Linked DNA regions of Homo sapiens: region 1 is linked to region 2. The links are contacts of gene promoters, found by promoter capture Hi-C in blood cells and fetal thymus (Javierre and others, 2016). All regions are on one chromosome and are shown on one strand. Each heading gives the region's core, a stretch centred on a gene start or on the middle of the fragment in contact. The rest is flanking DNA. Distances are from core to core; before and after follow the strand shown. Region 1 holds the start of AQP11 (aquaporin 11). Region 2 holds the start of MYO7A (myosin VIIA).

Evidence for each region. The method cuts DNA at HindIII sites, captures the fragments that hold promoters and counts their contacts. A CHiCAGO score of 5 or more calls a contact.
Region 1: the fragment with the promoter of AQP11 here is called in contact with the fragment with the promoter of MYO7A in region 2 in 3 of 17 cell types (erythroblasts, endothelial precursors and neutrophils); the score reaches 5.3 in erythroblasts.

The regions. Positions count from the first base shown.
Region 1 is chr11:77,585,712-77,592,426 of GRCh38, reverse strand. AQP11 (aquaporin 11) reads right to left here and starts at 2,474. Exons shown (of 3, transcript NM_173039.3): 1 at 1,816-2,474. The coding sequence starts at 2,434. RefSeq lists a silencer at 2,498-3,127. The HindIII fragment of the contact is 3,851 bases long and covers 1,867-5,717 here.
Region 2 is chr11:77,125,884-77,133,162 of GRCh38, reverse strand. MYO7A (myosin VIIA) reads right to left here and starts at 4,917. Exons shown (of 49, transcript NM_000260.4): 1 at 4,674-4,917; 2 at 2,511-2,574. The coding sequence starts at 2,528. CAPN5 (calpain 5) reads right to left here. Exons shown (of 13, transcript NM_004055.5): 13 at 7,008-7,279. RefSeq lists enhancers at 1,172-1,893, 3,339-4,062, 4,785-5,508, 5,509-6,231. The HindIII fragment of the contact is 18,517 bases long and covers 1-7,279 here.

The DNA of each region.
Region 1 (6,715 bases), core at 1,225-3,724, 460 kb before region 2:
TAGCATAACTCTTTTTGCAGTGACAATTCTGTTCATATACAGGGGATGTTTCTGCTTTAGCTAAAATCTAAAACTTCAATAAATAAGCAACTACCCACCAATCCCTCAAATATGCCTGTACTTGTCACTCTTTTTCTCTTTTTCTTTTTTTTTTTCTTTTGAGACAGACAGGGTCTCTATAACCCAGGCTGGAGTGCAGTGGCACTATCACAGCTCACCACAATCTCAACCTCCTGGACTTGGGTGATCCTCCCACCTTAGCCTCCCAAGTAGTTGGGACTACAAGTGCGCACCAGCACGCCCGGCTAATTTTTGTATTTTTTGGAGAGATGGGATTTCTCTTATGTTGCCCAGGCTAGTCTCGAACGCCTGGGCTCAAGCGATCCACCTGCCTTGGCCTCCCAAAGTGTTGGGATGACAGGTGTGAGCCACCGTGCCCGGCCCCCTTCACTCTTCTATACCACTTATTTCCATTTATGTCTACTTAAAAAGTGGTACTAGACCTAAAGAAGGGGAAATTGATTGGGAAGGCTTGCTTTCTTTCTTTTTTTTGAGACAGAGTCTCACTGTTGTCGCCTGGGCTGGAGTAAAATGGCGCGATCTCAGCTCACTGCAACCTCCGCCTCCCGGGTTCCAGCAATTCTCCCGCCTCAGATTCCCGAGTAGCTGAGATTACAGGCGCCCACCACCATGCCTGGCTAAATTTTTTTTGTATTTTTAGTAGAGACGGGGTTTCACCATGTTGGCGAGGCTGGTCTCAAACTCCTGACCTCAGGTGATCCACCCACCTCGGTCTCCCAAAGTGCTGGGATTACAGGCGTGAGCCACCGCGCCCGGCTGAAGGCTTTCATTTTTACCCTAGAAGGTCAAGTACGTGTTTAGGAGTCCTTATCTTGAAGTTTGCTTCTAGTCATTGTTTCACTTTTAATGGGCAGAAGATTATTACCACAAATTTCCTTTGTTGTTATTTCTGCCTCCACAGTCTTTTATAATTTAGATGTAGTCCCAATAAAGATATTCTGTTGTAATCATTTAAAATGACACATTTCATCATTAAATACTTGTGTTTTGGATTTCCTCCTCCCACTTAGGACTAGATTGCCCACTGCATCTGAGATCTGTCAAAGTAAACAAATGGTTTAAAAGAAATCAACAGATTTCTCAAGAGTTATATTTTAAAAAGCATCTTTAATTTGAAGCAAGTTATCATTTAAACATTTTTCTTAATAGGTCACTTAAAAGTTCATGTATAACTCAAAATGAATTATTAAGGAAATAAGAAATTTCATAACTCAAAATGAATTATTAAGGAAATAAGAAATGACTTTAAATCATTTATAGGACTAAAATGGAACTACAAAATTTCTACCCTCCGCTCTTATACTAACCAATCATGTGCCTTGTGCTTTAAATCGAAAGGAACTTTGTAAAGCCAGGATCATTTTTCAGTAAGAGTATCCGAAACGATCTATACCACCTTGGCATGAAGAAAGAGGCAGTTAATAAGTTATCTTTCCTTTCTACCATTAAAACAATCCCTTTGTAGGATATCTGAACCCTTGGCAATATCTCACAGTATCTCAGTTTCAGCACAGAGGTGGCTCCTTTCTCTGGGTGTTCAAAGCAGCACTGCATGAAGGCTCTACGTGTCGGCCCTACTGGTTAAGAACGGGCTGCAAAATGGTTAGAATAACGGGGATACCAGCATTTACATCATAGCGGGATAGACGGTTTCAAATGTATTTTAGTAAAGAACTTACAGCCTCATGTCATAGAGGCTCTGGAAGTGCCAAGTATTTGGTGAGAATGACAAACCTGCATAGACCAAAAAGGTGATGAGTGCAGCCAGCAGGTGGATACGAAGCTTGGTTCGGACTTCCTGGAAGTGCAGCAGAGCGCTGTGGAAGAGAAAGGAGCAGACGGCCTCTGTGATGACCGCTTTGAGCAAGTCGACTCGGATGGGATTCTTGCAAGCGAAGCTCCTCTCGCTGACGTGATACTGGGTCAGACCCAAGCTCCACAAGGCGCTTGTGCAGTACCTGCTGCACAGGGCACTAACCAGCTGAGCCAATAGCCTCACCGCACCCGTCTCGGGGGACATGCCCCCCAGCATCATCTGCATCATCACGCCGCACGGGTTGCTGGACGTGCCCACCAGAGTCAGGCCATGCACAAGCGAGAAGAAGTAGACGAGCGTCAGCGTCCAGGTGGGGTGCGCGGGGTGCTGTTCGCTCAGCAGTTGCAGCTCGTGGGTGCAGCAGCAGAGCTGGAAGGTGGCTAGAAACTCCAGGACGAAGGCGTGGGCCACCGGCCTGTGCAGCTGCTGCCGGGCGACTACGCGGGCCAGCCCCATGAGCAGCACCACCGACAGCATCAGTCCCAGCGAGGTGCAGGTGTCCTGCAGCTCGGACCGGAGCCCCAGCAGCGGCGACATGGCTCCGTCGCCGCCTGAGCGGGTTGCGGGCTCCGGCTCTGGGTAGGAGGCGGTCTCCAGGCCCGAGTCCGAAGTCCGCAGCCCCTCCCCTCCTCACGCCCCTCGGGGCGGGACGAGCGGGAGGCTCCCGAGCGGCACACTTAAGAAGTCCTCCCCGCCTCCCCGGCTTGGCGCTGGGGTGTTGGAACCAGAGCCGAGGAGGCGGGGAGGCGGGGAGGCGGGGAGGCGCGGGGAGGCGCGGGGAGGCGAAGGGAGGTAGCCTAGGGCGCCGGCCGCAGGGCCAACGGTCAGCCGAGCCCACCGCGCACTCACCCTCCGCAGTCTCCCTCAGGGCCTTGTAGGCGGGCGCGGCGGCGGAGGGCCGGCGCGGCGCGGTCGACGCAGCGCTCTTGGTGCCCACTGCGCACGCGTGCTGCGGCCCTTGCGCCCCTGCGGGCGGTGACACCCGGACCACGGGGCGGAGAGGAGCGGCACGGCGCGGCGGAGCTCTGATGGTTGCTTTGCAGCGAGGACCTTAGAGTTTTTCTTTCCCCGCTCCACACTGTAAAACCGTGGAGCTGGAAAGACCGCTGAAGGCCATCTCACATAGCCACCTCGTTTTTATCAATGGGCGACTGAAATTGAGAGGGGAGACGCGGCGCAGGGGGCGGGTGAGTTAGTGGGCGTAGACCGGTGCGCAGGGCCTCCTGGAGCCTTGCTTTTCTTCACCTGCCAAAAAACATTTCTAAAAATGGTGGTAATATATGCCAGATAAAATTCGCCACTTTAATCAATTTAAGTGTATATTTCAGTGGCATCGATTACCCTCACAGTGTTGTTCAACAGTCACCTCTTTTTTCCAGAACTTGAGCGGTGATTCTTCAAAGTGTAGCCTAGTTTTAGCATGTGACTGTCTATAACCTTTGGCATGAACTCTTTACGTATAATATGAAACAGTTGTGTCTTACTGTTACATGCACTCTTCGTGAAGAGGAAACAACAGGTAACTGGAGAGGTCTGTTTCCAAGAACTGGGGGTCCTGGCGCACCTCTTCCATCTGCTTTGAAAGCAGGAATACGGCTGCGTGAGGTGGAGCGCGTCCGGAGTCCCAGCACGGAGAGGCTTAGGTGGGAAGACCGCTTGACCCCAGGAGTTCCAGGCTGCAGTGAGCTGAGATCGCGCCACTGCACCCCTGCCTGGGCCACAGAGCGAGACGCTGTTTTTAGAAACAAAAACAACAACAAAAACCGGGCGCGGCTGGGCGCGGTGGCTCACGCCTATAATCCCAGCACTTTGGGAGGCCGAGGCGGGCGGATCACCGGAGGTCGGGAGTTCGAGACTAGCCTGACCAACATGAGAAACCCCCGTCTCTACTAAAAATACAAAATTAGCCGGGCATGGTGGCGCATGCCTGTCATCCCAGCTACTCGGGAGGATGATGCAGGAGAATCGCTTGAACCCGGGAGGCAGAGGTTGTGGTGAGCCTAGATCGCGCCATTGTACTCCAGCCTGGGCAACAAGAGCGAAACTCCGTCTCAAAAACAACAACAACAACAACAACAACAACAACAAACCAGTCAAACAAACAAAAAACAAAACATGAAAGCCACTTAGTACAGTTCCCAATACGTAGAAAATATTCACTAAGTGGTAGCTTACAGTGGAAACAGCAGGTTTCAGCAGCCAGAGTGCACGGCTCTTGCCACCGCATTCCAGTCCCAACAGCTTGTCCCCTGGGGTGGCCCATTGTAGGTGCAGCACTTTGGGAGTCCGAGGCAGGCGGATAACGAGGTCAGGAGTTCAAGACCAGCCTGGCCAACATAGTGAAACCCCGTCTCTACTAGAAATACAAAAATTAGCTGGGCATGGTGGTGCGCACATGTAGTCCCAGCTACTCGGGAGGCTGAGGCAAGAGAATCCCTTGAACCCGGGAGGTGGAGGTTGCAGTGAGCCAAGACAGTGCCACTGCACTCCAGTTTGAGCAACAGAGTGAGACTTCGTCTAAAAAAAAAAAAAATTCTTTCACAAGACACAAACTAGTAGAAAATCAAGACCTTTTCTCTTTCCTGTGTTGATTGCCTGGCCAGAAAGAATTTAAATTAGAATTATTTATTATTATTATTTTTTTAAGACAGAGTCTCGCTCTGTCTCCCAGACTGGAGTGTAATGGCGTGATCTCAGCTCACTGCAACTTCTGCTCCCGGGTTCACGCCATTCTCCTGCCTCAGCCTCCCGAGTAGCTGGGACTACAGGCGCCTGCCACCACACCTGGCTTTTTTTTTTTTTTTTTTTTTTTTTTTTTTTTTTTTTTTGTATTTTTTAGCAGAGATGGCGTTTCACTGTGTTAGCCAGGATGATCTTGATCTCCTGACCTTGTGATCTGCCCGCCTCGGCCTCCCAAAGTGCTGGGATTACAGGCGTGAGCCACCGCGCCCGGCAATTAGAATTACTTTTAAGTCACTGCTGTTTAAAGAAGTTGCCTTTAAATCAATCCTATGAATGTAACCCTTTCAGTGCTCCCCTAGACTTGAAGTCACTTGAGGATTAATGTGAATGTATTTTATTTACTGCTCTGCTGATAATTCACTTTTACCCGGAAGAGTCATGTAGAAAACCAGTGTTTTGGACTTTGGTAAGAAATTTTAGTATCGTGGTAATACATATTGTCATTAAAAGGACTTTGGACATTTTTTAAATTAAAGAACAAGGGCAAAATTAACATAATTAATTACTACTGATTGGATATTTTGCATCAAATCAACCTTCCTATTTTCAGAAACAAGAAATCACCAATTAAAGTCTCTTGAGAGTGACATCATGGACGAAGACCTCTGTTAGCTTTGGTAAAACAGCAGTAAAAACAGTCCTTGCTCTTGAATAGCATAGAAGAGGGAACAGAAGAGAAAACAAAATTAAAATATAGTGTAAAAGTACAATGGTAAAAGAAGAAAGGCCTGGGCACAGGGAGGGGCCCCCACTCAGACTTAAGGAAAGGCTCCTTGGAGGAAGTGTCATCCTAGCTGAAACCTGAAGAATAAATAGGAGTTAAGGGGTAAAGAGAAGAGGGAGAAAGAAGAGAGGCAGAGGCACTGCATTTTGCAAACAGAGAAAGCCTAGAGGAGTCCCCGTGCTCTAGGCTGGAGTATGAAGGGGGAAGTAGCAAGAGATCAAGGTTAAAAGAAATAATGCCTGAAAAAGATTTAGTACATGGCCCAGCACATAGTAGTGCTTAATAAGGTTTAATATATAAAAATGGAGGTAAAATAGACGATAGTTCAATAATCATGGATTTTGCCCTGAAGCTTCAGACAAGACAAAGCGAAATGAAGAAAAAAAAAAACCCCTGCCAAAATTCAGAATTGCATTTCGTTAACATCTGCGAGGAGATAAAGCATTTAAGAGCTTCTGCACCAGGCGCGGTGGCTCACGCCTGTAATCCCAGCACTTTGGGAGGCCGAGGTGGGTGGATCACCTGAGGTCAGGAGTTTGAGACCAGCCTGGCCAACATGGTGAAACCCTGTCTCTACTAAAAATACAAAAATTAGCCAGGCGTGTTGGCACATGCCTGTAGTCCCAGCTACTCAGGAGGCTGAGGCAAGAGAATAGCTTGAACCCGGGAGGTGGAGGTTGCAGCGAGCCAAGATTATACCACTAAACTCCAGCCTGGGCAACATGGTGAGACTCCATCTCAAAAAAAAAAAAAAAGAGCTTCTGAAGCCATGTCCTTTGGCTTGACGTTTACGTGGGAAGAAACATGGGAAGAATTTAAGTAATTGCATTTTAAAAGTATTTTATTTTGAAATAATCTCAGGCTTTCAGAAAAGTTGCAAGTATAGTACAAAATTTTTTTTTCCTGAACCATTTGAAAATTAATTGTTAATATTATGCCCAATTACTCAGAACATTTTAGGGTGTATTTTCTTAAACATCTGTGTCCTACATAGCCATAATAAGACTATCAAAATCAGGAAATTAACATTGTTACTACCATCTACTCCTCAGATCCCATTCAAGTTTTGCCAGTTGTCGCAACATTGTACTTCTTAGCAAAAGGATCCAATTCAGAATTGCACATTGCATTTAGTGTCATGTCTCATGAGTTTCCTTCAATCTAGAAAAGTTCCTCAGCTCTTCCTTGACTTTCATCACCTGGACAATTTTGAGGTTACAGATCAGTTATTTTGTAAAATCTCCTTGAATTTGGGTTTGCCTAATGTTTCCTAGATACTAGTTTCAGGTTAAGTGTCTTTTTTTTTTTCTTTTTTTGAGACAGAGTCTCACTGTGTTGCCCAGGCTGGAGTA
Region 2 (7,279 bases), core at 3,668-6,167:
TCTCCCAGGGAGGGCAGAAGGCTCTCCCATTCCCAGGTGCCCTCTCATCCCCGTGCCCCCTGGAGACTCACTGTCACAGTGCCTTTCCTAGGTTTCTAAGCTGTCTCCCCACATAGGTCTGGGAACTCCTCCAGGGCAGGGAATAGTAGGTGAATGCCTGCTCCTCCTGCCTTCAAGCAGGAAGTATGCTTCAGCTGCTTCCTTGGTCCTAAAAAGAACCCGAGCCCCGGGAGCCGACCCGCTCTGCAGTTCCACAGGCCGGGCCCAGTGGGCTCCATCTTGTGCTTTGCTGTTGAGTAAGAGGGCCTTGGGCACATTACTCAGCCTTCCTGAGCCTGTTTCATCATATGCAAAATGCAGATTAAAAACCTCTATCCACCTGGTGCGGTGGCTCACGCCTGTAATCCCAGTACTTTGGGAGGCCGAGGTGGGCGGATCACGAGGTCAGGAGATCAAGACCATCCTGGCCAACATGGTGAAACCCCGTCTTTATTAAAAATACAAAAATTAGTTGGACGTGGTGACGGGTGCCTGTAATCCCAGCTACTCAGGAGGCTGAGGCAGGAGAATTGCTTGAACCAGGGAGTCGAAGGTTGCAGTGAGCCAAAATCATGCCATAGCACTTCAGCCTGGTGACAAAGCAAGACTCTGTCTCAAAACAAACACACACACAAACAAACAAACAAACAAACAAAACCCCTGTTTTCCCACAGCTGCCATTGTGAAGCTAAAATGCCATTTGGGACTCCATGAAAATGCTTCTTCCTTCATCTGCTTCCCTGGACTGCCTCTCTCCTCCTCTCTTCCTGCCAGTTCCTTCCCTATCCTGAAAGATCCACGGGAAATGGGATGAAGGCTGTCCCTCATGTCCAGGGCTCATCAGGAAGCCCCAGGTAGGCAGAGAAAGGAGGAGGACTGTGGACCAGGCCCTGGGGTTTGCAGAGCAGGGAAGCCTCCCGAAGGAAGTAGAGGCTACACTGAAGCCTGAGCAGAAGTCAGCCAGGCAAGAGGGGAAGCCAAGCACTCCGTGGACCTTTCAGGACCGGGAAGGATGTGGCAGGAAGAGAGGAGGAGAGGGCAGACCAGGGAAGCAGAGGAAGGAAGAAGCATTTTCATGGAGCTCCACATGGCATTTTAGCCTCTCATCGGCAGCTGTGGGAAAAGAGGCTTTTAATCTTCATTTTACATATGAGGAAACTGAGGCTCAGGAAGGCTGAGTAACGTGCCCAAGGCCCTCCCACTCATCAATAGCAAAGCCTGGGCTGGAGCCCATTAGGCCCGGCCTGTGCAACTGCAGAGCTGGCCGGTTCCCCAGGGCTGGGGCTTTCTTCAGGACCAAGGAAGGAGCTGAGTGTACTTCCTGCTTGAGGGCAGGCAGAACAGGCATTCACCTACAAGACACTTGCTCCCAACAGAGGCCACCCACAGCTGGAGGTGGGTCAGCGTTCAGAGGGGCAGGAGAGGAGGGGGTGGTGAGGAGGTCCCATCAGCCAGAGGCCTGCCTCAGAGGCCCCCTGAGGGAGGACGCCCCTGGAGGGCTATGGGGGCCCAGGCCCTGGCACACAGCAAACACTCAGCGAATGGACTTTTCCTCTCCTAGATCCTGCCCATCTCTAATGGGCGTTTGAACAGGCTCTCAGGCCAAGGGGCTCTAAAGGGGGTCTCCTCCAGCCCCTGGGATAGAAGAATGTCTGTCCTGATGCTGCCCTGAAGCCTGCCTCTCACTCACACACACAGACACACACACGCGCACGCACTCATATGCAAACATGCTGGTCCGTGCAGCCTCAGGGTGGCCAGGCAAGGCTGAGCCATTGGCCTCTGGTGACCCTGGAGACCGAGAAGCTGCTGGCCAAGCCCCCATAATGCACAGCCCCACAAGCCCTACGGCCTGCTGCCAGGCCCACCTGGCTCAGGGCCCACATTCCTGGCTCCTGCTCTGGAGGCCAGGAGCTCATTAGAGCCTCAGACTGATCACGGGGAAGGGCTGAGGGTCAGAGGCCACTGTGGCCCTCAGTAGGAAGGGGGGCTGGAGGACTCAGCTCGGGCCAGCACCTCTGCTTCTTCCCATAAAATCCCAGGGGGCTCCAGCTCAAGCCTTGTCACCCCCCGCCCTCCAGTCACTGCTCCCCAAGGCCCTAAGAATAAGTTGGGCTCAGGGCCCTTCCTGGCCTGGCTTTGGGAGCCTTGCCAACCTCCTCTCCTCTTCCCCAGGGACCTTCCCACACCTGGGCCTTTGCACATGCTGTTCCACTGCCTGGGATCCAGAGATGTGTGTAAATAAACTCATTTCTGCCCAGTGGGGTGAGCCAGTGAGAGAAGGAAACCCCAGCTGGCACAGCAGAGGGAACAGGTTTCAGACTAGGCCTCAGCCTGGAGGGCTGGGTTTGGAAGCCTAGGCAGGAATTTTCCAAGAGAACACCCTGGGGAGGGTGTCCCACGGGTAAGCATATGGATGAGGGGATATGGCCTGGGGAGGACAGGCCACCCAAAGAGGTGGGAACACTGACCTGCTGAAGAATCACCATGGTCCCAAGTCAGGAGCTCCTGCTGCCCACTGGGCCAGGCACAGTTCTGCAGGGAGAGAGACCATGTCATGCTTCTGGGCAGGCCAGCCCTGGAAGCCTTGAGCCTGGCTGGGGTCACCTGGGCTCCTCCCAAAGCCCCAGCTCCTCCTCCCTCAAGGGAACCCTCCTTGGCTTCTCTCCCTCTGACCACTGCCCAGCCTGTGTGACCTGAGCCTCAGCCACTGTCACCAGCACCACTGCCCAGAGCAGCTGAATTCTTCTCTCAGCCACTGTCATTCAGAGATTCCCAAAGGGCTCCTAGAAAGTAGCAAGTCTGGCCCCACCAGGGACCTACGGCAAAGGGGCCCAGAGAGGGACCAAGACTTGCCCAGGGTCACACAGCTAGCCAGAGCAAATTTAGGACTAGGACTTAATCTCCGGCACTCAGCTTAGGGACTGCCCCAGGAATGTGGGTGACAAGGACAAGCCTGACTGAGCAGAAGGTCAAGGGCTGGGCATGACCTGCTCACAGCACACCCTGCCTGAAACCTCTCAAGAGCACCCACTGCCCTCAGGATGGCTCTGTGCAGAGCACTGGCTGCTGACGGGGAGGCAGGGTCATTGGGGTCTGTCTCTGGCTGTGCTGCTGAATGCACCGCACCTGGGCCTGGGCCCGGGCCCGGGCCCGCCCCGCTAGGCCCAGCACAATCTGGCCCCTGCTGATGCCTCGGTCTTTTCTCTCACTGCTCACTCCCTTTCCTACCCTTATACTTGGACATCCTCAGTGACTCACTGTTCCTGAAATACGCCAGCTCTTGCCATCTCCTGGCCTTCACACACTGGCCCTTCTACCTGAAATTTTGACTAGTGAATTTCCACTTATGGTTCATGGCTCAGTTCAGATGATACCTCCTCCAGGAAGCCTTCCCTGACCACTCCCAAGCTGCCAAGAGCCTCTATATTCCCCTTTATCCCATTTTGACTATATGCATTATGTTGTCAGGGTAAGGGTCAGTCCCACCTCTGCCCCCAAAGTTGGCGAGTTGATCCAGGGCAGGATGTGGCCAATGGGAGAGGGTCTGAGACATTGCCTTGTCTCCAGCCTTGTCCAGCACAGGGCCAGACCCAGAGACGGCCTCAGGAAGGAGCTTAAAAGGCAGCCCCAGCCTACAGACCCTGGTATGAGGCCCCTCTGGCTCCCAACCTGTCTCCTAGAATGCGCATCAATTTTTCACAAGGGCCCATTCAGAGCCGCCGGGGCATTCGATCCTCTGCCCATGACACTGCCCGACATCCGAGCCCTGACCCCTGCCCTGGAGCTCTGGGACACAGCAAACCCACAGTCCTTCCAGAGACCTGAACTAGTCTGGATGCCTGGTGGAGATGTGGATTCAACAGGGCCAGCAGGCAGTTGCCACCGGGCACTTGTCTGAAGATGGTGCCCAGGCTGTGGAGCAGGCGCCCTATGCCAGCATGAGCCATGAGGGCTGGGGGCAGAGCCAGTGCTTTCACTAGAGACATGGGGCTCCAAGGGATGGGGGAGAGTGGTGAGGGCGTGAAATTTAAGGGCCACATTTTAAAATGACCAGACAGACATTTCATTTCTAAAAATGAGAACTAGACCACCTTCAAGTTAATTTCTTTTCCAACTGACAACAGGGGGCATAGACTGTATTTGTATTTCTATGTCTATACCTGATTTTACCTCTTCCCCACTACAACCCTGGCTGTTGGGGCTTCATACTCCCATTTCACAGATGGGATATTTGGGGCATAGAGGAAGGAAGTGACTTATCCAAAAACGGAGATAAAGAGTGTCAGAGAGAAAGCAAAGGAGACAGAGAGAACGGACTCTTCTCTCTGCCACCACAGCATGTCTATTCCCCTGGCCCCAGGATGCCACTAACCCCAGCCCCAGCTCAGAGAAGATTCGATGGACAACATGCTCCTTGGCTCTTCCCTCCTCCAGGGGACACACATCCATCTTCCCAGGCTCGGGACAGTTTCATTCAGTGGCTGTGGTGGCTGAGCCCTCAAGGGTGGCAGGAAGCCCAGTCCCAGGAGCAAGTGGCTGTGGGGCAGAGGCTCTAGAGGTAGCTCAAGTCCATGACTCCTCCACATCCAAACCCCTCCCAATGCCCAGGACAGTGGGCAGCCCATCCTTACCTGGGGCCCAGCTGCCCACTCTCAGTGACCTGCCAGCCTGGTACAGCTGCCACCTGCACGGAGGACTCAGGAAGCTGGGTCACGGGCCCAGCCAGTCTGCAAACACACGTCCCCTCTTCCTCTGTCTGGCTCCAAGTCTCGTTCTAGGCGTCCCTCTGGGTCTTTCCCTTCCTCGCCGTCTCTCTGTGTGTGTCTCTTGTCTCTCCCTCTCTCTCCTGCCCAGAGCAGCTGTCCAGCCAGCACTGCTGCCCTCCCCTCCTCACTCCAGAGCCTTCTCCCAGGAGGCGGAGCCGGAGGGGGCCTCCAAGGTCTGGGTGCGGTGACATCAGCGTGGGGGACGGGCCGTGCTGGGGCTGGGACTAATGTCCAGAGGCTGCTCAGGGCTCTGTGCAGAGCACTGGCTGCCGACAGGGAGGCGGGGTCATTGGGGTCTGTCTCTGGCTGTGCTGCTGAATGCACCGCACCTGGGCGTGGGCCCCCCAGGCTAGCTTCAGGTGCCTCCTGTTGTTTGCAGGACACCGCCTGCTGTCTCAGCACCTGAGCAGGAAACCGCACCTGATCCTGACTTAATCACTGATGTGCTGGGGTCTCAGCCCCATTTCTTCCTCCTCTACCTGGCTGTTTGGGACTCAGAGAGGGAACGGTCAGGCAGAGCATGGCAGGAGGGAGAGTGCTGAGCTAAAGCCCTGCCTTCTGCGCCTTCTCCCTCCTGCACACCCACCCTTGCCTCTGATGTGTGTTCTCTGACGCTGGTCAATGCAACATTGCCCCCACAACCTGCTCTGCGGGTTGGGGACACATGTTATTCCGTAATCATCCAGAAACTTTGCCAAACCAGCTGACTGGGAGCCACCCCACGTGTGACAGCGACACAGATAAACTGAAGTGAAATCTGTGATTTAAAGGAGTGGGGGGAACCAAGCAAAGAGGAGCACACGTCTTTGTTATTAGCGTTGTCGAGGATGGAGACCTCGCGCGGCCCTATCGGGACATGACAGTTTCTCCTTTCCGCCCTCGGCAGCCACGCAGCTGTCGGCGGCCCCATAGTGCACCTCGCCAGGGCAGCTCTGGGTGGCAGAAGGATGTCTCTTTTGGGTCCCTAGCCCCCATAACTGGGGTGTCTGCAGGGAAGCTGCCCAGAAGGTGGGGTGGGGGCCCAAAGGGGCGCTATAGCTCGCCAGCGCCGCCTGCTGGTCACAGGCCCCACTGCCCAGCTGCTTCCGTCAGGCGGGCTGAGCACCGCTGGGAAGTGACCGTGACAGGAGTCAGCTTCTGCTAGGGCCTGGGTCCCCTCAGACCCGACGACCCTGTCCCAGGAAGACCCCAGGATGCCGTCTGCCCCTTAGCCTGCTGGCCTAACAGGAGTCCAGGAGTCCCTGGAACACAGTCCCCACCTGGGATTTGCACCTGCTGCCGAAACCCAGTACTGGCCACTCCTCAAGTCCCCCCTCTCCATCCTCCCAGGCTGGGCGGGGCCAGTGGCGTCAGCCCTACACGGATGGGGAAATGAGACCCCGGGGGAGCACAGGAGAGCCCATGGCACACGACTGGCAGCAGGGACAAAATGCAGTGAGCTGTGGGAATGGGGCAGAGAGGTGGGCAGGTTATGGGGGACAGGGCGGCCTCCAAACACCAGGATGACAGCTACATTGTGTTCAGCCATGCTATGAACCAGGCACTATGCTAAGCAGATCACACGATTTGCAATACCCATTTCTCAGTCCCATGAAGAAAGCGAGGCATCTCGGTTCACTTTGCCCTCACACTGCACTCACCCCGTCTCCCAAGTCGTTTTTCATTGAGTCGTCCACTCTGCTTTCAGTCATCCCAACCCTGCTTCTCCCCACCACCACACCAGCTTCCTGGCCCTAGATGCCTGCATCTGCCCTCAGCAGCCTCCGCTCTGGTCCCCCCACACCTTCCTGTGCCCCGAAGGCCCATCTCCTCTTCCCAGCCCTTCATGCACAGATCAGGGAGTAGGCCGTCTCTAACCCAGCAGGCCCACACTGCCCCATCAGTAATGTGCGGGGTAGTGTCTGTCATGACCAGAGTATGTCTTTGTTCTCGCTGCTCGTTTGTAGACTGTCCCAGAGCAGGGATTGCTATGCCTGGTTCCCCACATCCCAGGTGCCCGGGGCAGGCCTTGGCACAAAGCCAGCCCCGTACAGATCTACTGAATAAAGGAATGACTGAATGATCCCCACAATCTCAGCTCACAGGTGCACCGGGCAGGCAGCGGGGCCTTCCCTCTGACCAGCGGACAGTCGCCCAGGCCTGGGGAATATTCCTCCATTGTCCCTTCCCCCCAGGGGGACAGAGGGACACAGGAAAGTCTTTTTGGAATTTTGTAAGATTTATTGAGAATAGAACAGGCTTCCTGTCCCCTAACCCTGTGGTGGATCCTGAGAAGAGGGAAGCCTAGGTCTGGGTGGTGTGGGCTGGAGGCCCTACCCACCTGCAAATGGGGACTCCCAGGCCCCCGCGGGTGCATACAGTGAACAAAGTAATTGCTCTCCCCTATCACCCCTGATCCTTACCTGCCTGGCCCCCAAGGTCTCCTGGGGACCAGAGATCCCTGCATAGCCAGGAGCCAGCCTGGCCCACCT